Linked DNA regions of Homo sapiens: region 1 is linked to region 2. The links are contacts of gene promoters, found by promoter capture Hi-C in blood cells and fetal thymus (Javierre and others, 2016). All regions are on one chromosome and are shown on one strand. The core of a region is centred on a gene start or on the middle of the fragment in contact, and the rest is flanking DNA. Distances in the headings are between cores, read along the strand shown. Region 1 overlaps PHF21A (PHD finger protein 21A). Region 2 holds the start of MAPK8IP1 (mitogen-activated protein kinase 8 interacting protein 1).

Evidence for each region. Contacts are between HindIII fragments. The CHiCAGO score rates a contact against its expected background, and 5 or more counts as called.
Region 1: a contact is called between a fragment that was not itself captured here and the fragment with the promoter of MAPK8IP1 in region 2, in 1 of 17 cell types (naive B cells). The highest score is 5.5, in naive B cells.

The regions. Positions count from the first base shown.
Region 1 is chr11:46,003,241-46,006,793 of GRCh38, forward strand. All of the region lies in intron 6 of PHF21A (PHD finger protein 21A), which reads right to left. Among named protein-coding and RNA genes, the nearest start is that of LARGE2, 82 kb to the left of the region's middle. The HindIII fragment of the contact is 1,841 bases long and covers 673-2,513 here.
Region 2 is chr11:45,883,122-45,887,113 of GRCh38, forward strand. It overlaps MAPK8IP1 (mitogen-activated protein kinase 8 interacting protein 1), which reads left to right and starts at 2,530. Exons shown (of 12, transcript NM_005456.4): 1 at 2,530-2,800. The coding sequence starts at 2,700. It overlaps CRY2 (cryptochrome circadian regulator 2), which reads left to right. Exons shown (of 12, transcript NM_021117.5): 12 at 1-123. RefSeq lists a silencer at 2,392-2,791. The HindIII fragment of the contact is 6,698 bases long and covers 682-3,992 here.

The DNA.
Region 1 (3,553 bases), core at 343-2,842, 120 kb after region 2:
TATAGTGTATGGAGGAAAGAGCTTGGGTTAAAGGCTAACATTCAAAAAAAAAAAAAAATGCCAAGTTTTCTTTTCACACCATCTATGTGTCTAGTCATCACTCAGACTCTCTTCGGTGTTAATACTGTTACAAAATGAGGATAATACCTATCCTCTCCCCCACTGCTAAAAGAAAAAAATATTTTATAAAACTAAAGAGTCATAAAATATTCAATATTCATAGTACTAATGACACTAAAACAAGAAATTGATAGCTTAAAAATGCTGATGAACTTGATTTTTAAAACACCATAAAGCTGCCCTGCTGCCCATAATGATGATGACATTTTCACGAAGGGCAGAGTGAGAAAACGCTACAATTCTCACTAGGATGATGACTAGTACTTATAGAAGATTAAAAATAAGAATGATATATTATGTAGAAGAGAAGTAAAGATGGAAGTATGAGTATGGCTCAGCACACTACAGAGCACATGAATTTTAATTTGAAAAGTACTGGCAAGGCCTTGCATGCAGGCCCACACAAGTGCTTTTAAAAGCTTCATTACACTCTGCAGACATTTGCCCTTCATCAATTGCTTCCTATGCCAGGATTTCCTTTTTGAGTGTTGCAACCTAATATTCTTCACCCAGGCAACCACAGCCTATTTTGGAAAGGTTCCCTATTTCAGAAGCTTCAGTGCTGTTTCCATTTGGAAATACATCTTTATGAAAATATGTATCATCCTCAGAACAAAAATGCTTCAATATATTAAGTTTCAGCTGTAAGTGATATTTTTAGAAAAGTGGTAATTTCAGAATCTCTGCTTCAAAATTACAGAGTTGGTTTTTTTAAACGGAGTCACAAAGTAGAAAATTAAAAAGATATACCAATGAATAAAATCCTGTCTCCCCTTTTTCTTATCCCATTTCATTTAAAAATGTTTAAATTTATTTTCCATAGATTCTTAAAATCATTGAATTATGCATACTGGTAAGAAATTTCATCCAATGTTCATCTTCATAAAAACCAAATAACTCAATGCAAAAGAGCTCTTAACAGTCAATTTTCTAAGAAATGGTCTGACATCACAGATGGTGTTTTCTATATAACAAAGTGAATCAATTTGAGATGTCTTGGACACTGTAAAAAACTTGTACTTTTGACCAAAGGAAATGGATTTCACTTTTAATAGATAAGAAATAAGAGACACTGGGGAGTAGGGAAGGGGTAGAGGAGAGAAGGAAGTCCTTGTTCTAAGATTATATTAAAAGCTACTTAAAACATGTAAGTGACAATATTTCATAAACTGAAATATTTTATCAGTAGCTATGACAGAATATTCTCTATTCTTTTCTTCAACATAAAAGTTTTAAAGAACTGTGCTCATTTGACCTCTTATCAAACAAAAACTCACTTTTCTTCATATTGGTTTGCATAGCACAGACTATTACTTTTTCATAGCACTTAACTTTTACTGTGGATGAGGGCTGTATCTGCCAGGCCTAGAATGCTTTCCATTGAACTGTCTCCTCAAGACTAAAGGACTCATCATCTAAAAGATGTCTTTGTAAAATACAGTTTATGCCTCCTGAAAATACCATCTCTCCCTCTCTCCCATTCACTACACACATACTTACATGTGTTCGAAATTTATTCCCCTTCTTTATCATGGCTACCCTCAAGAAAAAACACAGGGAAACAGATAAGCACTACACAACAAAGTTTACTTTTTCCCTTTACAATAATATTTGTCTCTTACTGCAAATGTCTCTGAATATGGAAAATGAGATTATGCAGTTAAATTTTAACACATGCATGTATACACCCAACTAATACAGCAGTCCCCCACATCAGTAATTTCACTTTCTGCAGGCTCAGTTACCAAGAGCAACCGCAGTCCAAAAATTCAGGTTGAGCATCTTTAATCTGAAAAATCTGAAATCCAAAATGCTCCAAAATCCAAAACTTTTTGAGCACTGACGTGATGCCACAACTGGAAAACTTCACACCTGACCTCAAGTGATAGATCATAGTCAACATGCAGTCAAAACTTTGTTTCATGTACAAAATGATGTAAAATATTGTATAAAATTTATACAAATTTATGCTTGGGACCAGAAGTGTTTCAGATTTTGAGATTTTTCAGACTGTAGAATATTTGCACAATATATTAACGCCTTGTATATACCAAATAATCTTAGGCAGTTGCTTTTTCTGGTTGAAGGTTTCAAGATAATAAGAAAAGCAAAAACCTCATTTGCAATATTAACTTAATTAATGGGCACCAAATGTTCAGACCTTCCTGTTCTGACTTATAAAACAGGTTATTTTGACTCCATTAGCAAATGCCCCTGATTATTCTCAGCTTTTTATTACATACTAGGTAAATGAAACTATCAACGATCCTTTTACTAAGAAATGTGAACTGCCTTATACTGGAATAGTTAAATAAACATTAGGGGAACCATCAGCACCAACTACTTACTCCCTATGAGCAATGAATAAAAGAATAATATTTGTAGCACAATTAAGCTTCCATAGCTCAAGACGGATCATCCCACCAATTCTGAAACAATTTACTCTAGCTGTATGAATCTGATCATAAAGAAAAAAGAAACACTTCTAATGAAATGTGGAAATGCTTTTTTTGCATGTGAATCGTATTCATTTCTTTAAAAAACTTCAACTTCAGAACTCTCAAGAACAGTAAGAAAAATAAAACATACAATTTTAAAAGTTTATTTGGAGCCTACAAATGCCTGTGGAAAAGCACAATTTTAAACTTTGAAAATGGGCTGGTCTAATATAAAACAGTCTTTGTAGATAAAAAATAATTCAAATTCAGACAAGAGAGAATTAAAGAATTAGGATGTTCACTGTTATTTTACATTTACGATTAAAGAACCAGATTAACTGACAAGTAGATCACTGTTGACATAGTTCCTATAAATAAGAGCCAAATGATTTTAAAATTAAATGTTATAAACTTCATGCTTTAAAAAATGTGTACTCCCAATTTTCATTTGTTTTCCAATGCTTCCAGAAGCCCAAACAAGAATTATTTTAATAGGGCAAAAAACCATGAGAAATCAGTAAATTCTTAATCTTTCGGTTGTATATACAATTAGGGCAAAGGCTAAGTCAAATCCAGAATTAATAAGCACCTAACGAAATATTGCAACTTGTTATAGTTCTTTAGTTTGAATAAATCTGCCCTCAGTGTTCTATCTTCCTAAACTTTCTGAATAACCTCCACAAATCACGCTATATAAATAACAAGGAGTCTAAAAGTTTACTGCCACATTCACTCTCTAAAGATACTAAAATCAGTTCATCTACACAGGCAGCTGTCTGCCTGAGCTAGAGGATGAAGTTATGCCTTAATGAACTAACGCCATCTAGTGGGATCAGTGAGATTTCAGCTGAAACTAGTTTACAACAGGTTACTACAATCTATTCAGCTGGTCAAATGTCTTATTTAAAAAGATACACTTGTATTAAGTATTGAACTGTCTTAAACGCCTATTAGAATGTGATATACTTGCCTACAATAAAAATGGCACAAAAATA
Region 2 (3,992 bases), core at 1,280-3,779:
GGGGAAGAGATGGTTGCAGGCAAAATGCACTTTATAGAGATTTTCTATTGCTGGGAAGGTGTGTTTCTCCCACAATTTGTTTGTGAATATTCACTTGTTTTATAAATGTCTGACCTGTCTTGAGTAAGTTTGTGCTGTCGTCAATCTTGTGGGAGGCCTGGGAACCAGGGTTTTGGTAAGCCTGAGCCTGAATGAAGCTGTCGGCCACCCCATCTTGGTTCTGTGGGAGTCAGGAGCCTCCTATTCCTCCTTAGGAAGGGGGAGCAGCCAGAGCAGACTGGAGCAGCTTGGTCAAGAGTTGGTCCAGAGCTTGGTCAAGAGTTGGGGGTCAATTGGCCAAAATAGTACAGAGCACTCTGGCCCAGAGTGAGGGTCCTAAGTGCCATCCTGCAGTGCCACCCAGCCTTGCAGCCCACTTAAACCCCCTCCCAGGCTGGGGGTCAGTCAGTGCAGGGCCTGCTCCACGCCCTCAATCCATCCTTTAATTCAATGCAGCCACTTAAGCTGCAGCCTGTGGTGAGGAGGGGATGCAGGCTCTCTGGCTGTGACTAGGTGGTTGAGATCTGCCCACAGCCAAGCCTAGGGCGCCTGGATGCTGGCTTTGTCTCCTGGCCAGAGAATGGCCCCTCTCTGTGCAGTGTGCCCTGCTTCCATGCTAGGGGATGCTAGCCTTGGACTGAAAGCTTTATTAGCTCACACCCCAACTTTCTGGGAAGGGGCCCAGGCAAGGCCCAAGAATATCACAGTCTGGCCTGCACAGAGTGAAGAAGGAGAAAAGGGGAGGAACCTGCCTTGGGAACTTGTCTCATTCTTGGCTCTGCTCTGAAGCTCCTGCTGGCCTCCCTCATACCAAGACCTGGGCCTGCCTTTCCTTCTTGCCCTTCTGGCTTCTCTCTAATAATGGCTTTGGGTTGGTCTTTGGAGCTAAGATAACTTTGCTCTTGAGCAAAAGGTTCTGGAAGAGGGAGTTGTCCTTTACATCCACCCCTGACCTGCTAAGGATGTTCCCTAGCTGAGGCAGGTCTACATTCTAAGGAACGATTAGTAGCCATGATGGCAAGACTGCTTTCCTGAGAGGAAAAGCCAGGCACCATGGCAGCAGATGATTACCGTGAGGGCCCAGTGAAAGGGGCCTGATCACGAAAGCTGAGAAAGTAGTGGCCACCCCTCTGGGCCCCAGGGACAGGGAAAAGAGAAGCAGCCATGACCTTTGGCTCTAGGTATTGGGATATTCTCAGGGCTGGTGGTCGGAGGTTGCCTTCTGCACGGAAGGTGCCTCCAGCTCCTTGCTAGGTGCCGCACTGAAGGAAAGGGGCCAGCATGACTGGTCGGCAGTCCAGATTTGCAAATAGGACTCCACGAGTTGTGGCACAGTTTGCTCTGCACGTTTTCTGCCCTGTGGACAGGGTCTCTAGGGTTCTCTCGAGAGACCAGAGAAGCCAATGAGGTTTGACCAGAGGCTCTACGACCCAGCAAAGCTAAGGCCCTAGCCTTGGCAGTCCGTACTCTGAAATAACTCAATCGGGAAACTCAGGGACTTGAAGGCCTGGAAGCCCAGGAATAACACCCTCTCGAGGGAGAGACAATGAGGAAGAAGCCATGGCCAAAGCCTAGCAGGGATGGAGGTGCCAGAGGGAACAGAAACAACCAAAATGATCCCAAGAAGTCAACAGTGGGAGGAGAGGGAAAGGCGCCAAGTCTTAGAATGTGTGTCTGTGGGTGCAGAAGAGGGGTGCTCTGCAGGAAATGCAGTTGAGGCGCTAAGAAGGAGAATGCTGGGAAGGTCCTGGCGAGAGACCGAGAAGCCTGGAGGGCTCAATTCACCACGAGTAGCTGTTTGGGGCTGAAGAGAGATTTGGGTCAATCTTTAGAGAAGACAGCCTCTAGGGAGAGTCTTTGGGAGGGTCCCCTCAAGGTAAAGGGACAGGACTGGGGTGAGGGCTGGATCCCAGCGCAGGAGGTGGAGTGTTTCTGGGTCTCAGGCAACACATTTGTGTTACGTTACATTCTCACAACAACCATGAGAGGGACTGCTATTGTCCCATTTCACAGATAAGAAGACCAAACCTTAGTGCTCTGAAGTCACTAATGCAAGGCCCCACTGCCCAGTCACTTGTGGAGCCAGTGAATTCACACCACCTGACTCCAAACCTGTACACTTTAAGAGCCCACTGACATCCTCTCCTTTCTCTGCCTTCCTCCACGACCCTCCTTTTCCGCCTGCCTTCTTGGTCTCTGCTGCGGGGGGCCAACCTGGACCTTGGGGTCCAGTGTCCTGCCATTAGTCATCTGATACCCGGGCACTAAGCCCAACCGGAGGGACAAAGCCCACACCGGCCACGGGGTGGAGGAGAGTCGATGTCGGATTTAGGGCGGGGCTGAACCAAGCCCAGGGCCGCGGGGGCCGTGGCTTCAGCACCGCGGAGAGCGCCATCTCCGGGGGCGGGGCTGGCGGGGTGGGGGCGGGGCCTGGGCGGGGCGCGCGAGACCCCGGCCGGGTCCCGGGGGCGCGCGCGGGGCGCTCTCGCCAGTCCCGCGGGCCGTGCGCGGTGCTGTGCCGCGCCCTGCCAGACACAGGTGCGCCCGCCTAGCCCGAACTCCGCGGCGGCGGCTGCCCTCTCGCCGCGCCTCCGCCTCCTTCGCAGCCGCCGCCTCCTCCGCGCCGCGCTCCGCCCGGATGGCCAGGGCTGTGCCCGAGAATGGCGGAGCGAGAAAGCGGCGGCCTGGGAGGGGGGGCCGCGTCCCCGCCCGCCGCCTCCCCGTTCCTGGGGCTGCACATCGCTTCGCCTCCCAATTTCAGGTGAGAGTCCCCGGCCGCCGCGCGCCTCGCCCTTCAGCGGGGACTGATCCGCATTGGCTGCCCTGCCCGCCCCCCACCCCAGAACCTCGGGAACCCGGGAACGAAAGGGCTGCGTGGGAGTGGGGTCTCTTCCCGGGACAGAGCCCCCCTCAGAAGCCCCGCCAGCCTCAAGTCCGGACTGGTAGCCGTTGCATGTTCACGAGGCTGTTCCCTCCGCCATTCCTGGTCCTAGGCTGGGAGGTCTGCGCTGGAATTGGAGGAGGGGGCTCGGAGGCCTCCTTCTCCCCAACCTCCGGGCTGCGGCAGGGTCTGGGGTCGGGGTTGCGATCCCGGAGCGGGCAGGCAGGCTGCATCTTAGCCTGTGAATAGAGCTGGGAACAGCCTGGAGGGGCGCGGGTCGCAGTTTCCTGGGGCAACGACATTGTTGGTGCTGGGAGGAGGATGTTTGAGCCCCTCCCCGAGCCCTGCCTGGCCAGATGGGCCTACCTGCCAGGCCTGGCGTGGCCGGGCCCCTCTCTGGATTGGGCAGCACCGACCTAGGCAGGTGTGTCTCTCAGGGCAGGCGCTGAAGGCTCAGCCTCAACCAGGGGAATCCTAGGCCCGGCTGCGGGAAGGGAAGTCGGCTCGGCTCTGGAGTAGCCAGGGCCAGCGAGGGTGTCGAGGGGATCCCTGCTGGGGTAAATACCCAGAACCCTGACCTGAGCTCCTATTCCACCACCCCCACCCCCCAATCTGGTGTTAGGCCCGATGCATTTCAGAGAAGTGAGGGGTGAGTGTTGTGTGGAGGAGGAATAGATGTACCTCCCCCATAATTCTGAACCCTAGTTGGTGGGGAGGAAGAGGCCGAAGTCACTGCTCCCGGCCTAGAGAGGGAGGCTTAGACATACCCCATTGTTTCCCCATCTCGAGAACTGGCGCCTTCCCCTCTCCTGGGGCACCACCCCAGCCAGGCTCCAGCTGGGCTGTGGTGCCAGCCCCTCCTGGGAGCAAGGGGTCACTGGCTCCCAGGTCCTCAGGTGGGCAGAGACCCCTGGGGATCTCTAATAGCATCATCAAACTCAGAAACCTTCCCTGAGGCCCTGAGCTGAGCTGGAAGGACCAGAGGGGGCCAGATGGAGGAGGCCAGGCCTGAAGGCTCCAGGGCTGCAGCTCTCTGATAATGCCTTAGACTGAGGTCTGAGACTCCACCTGG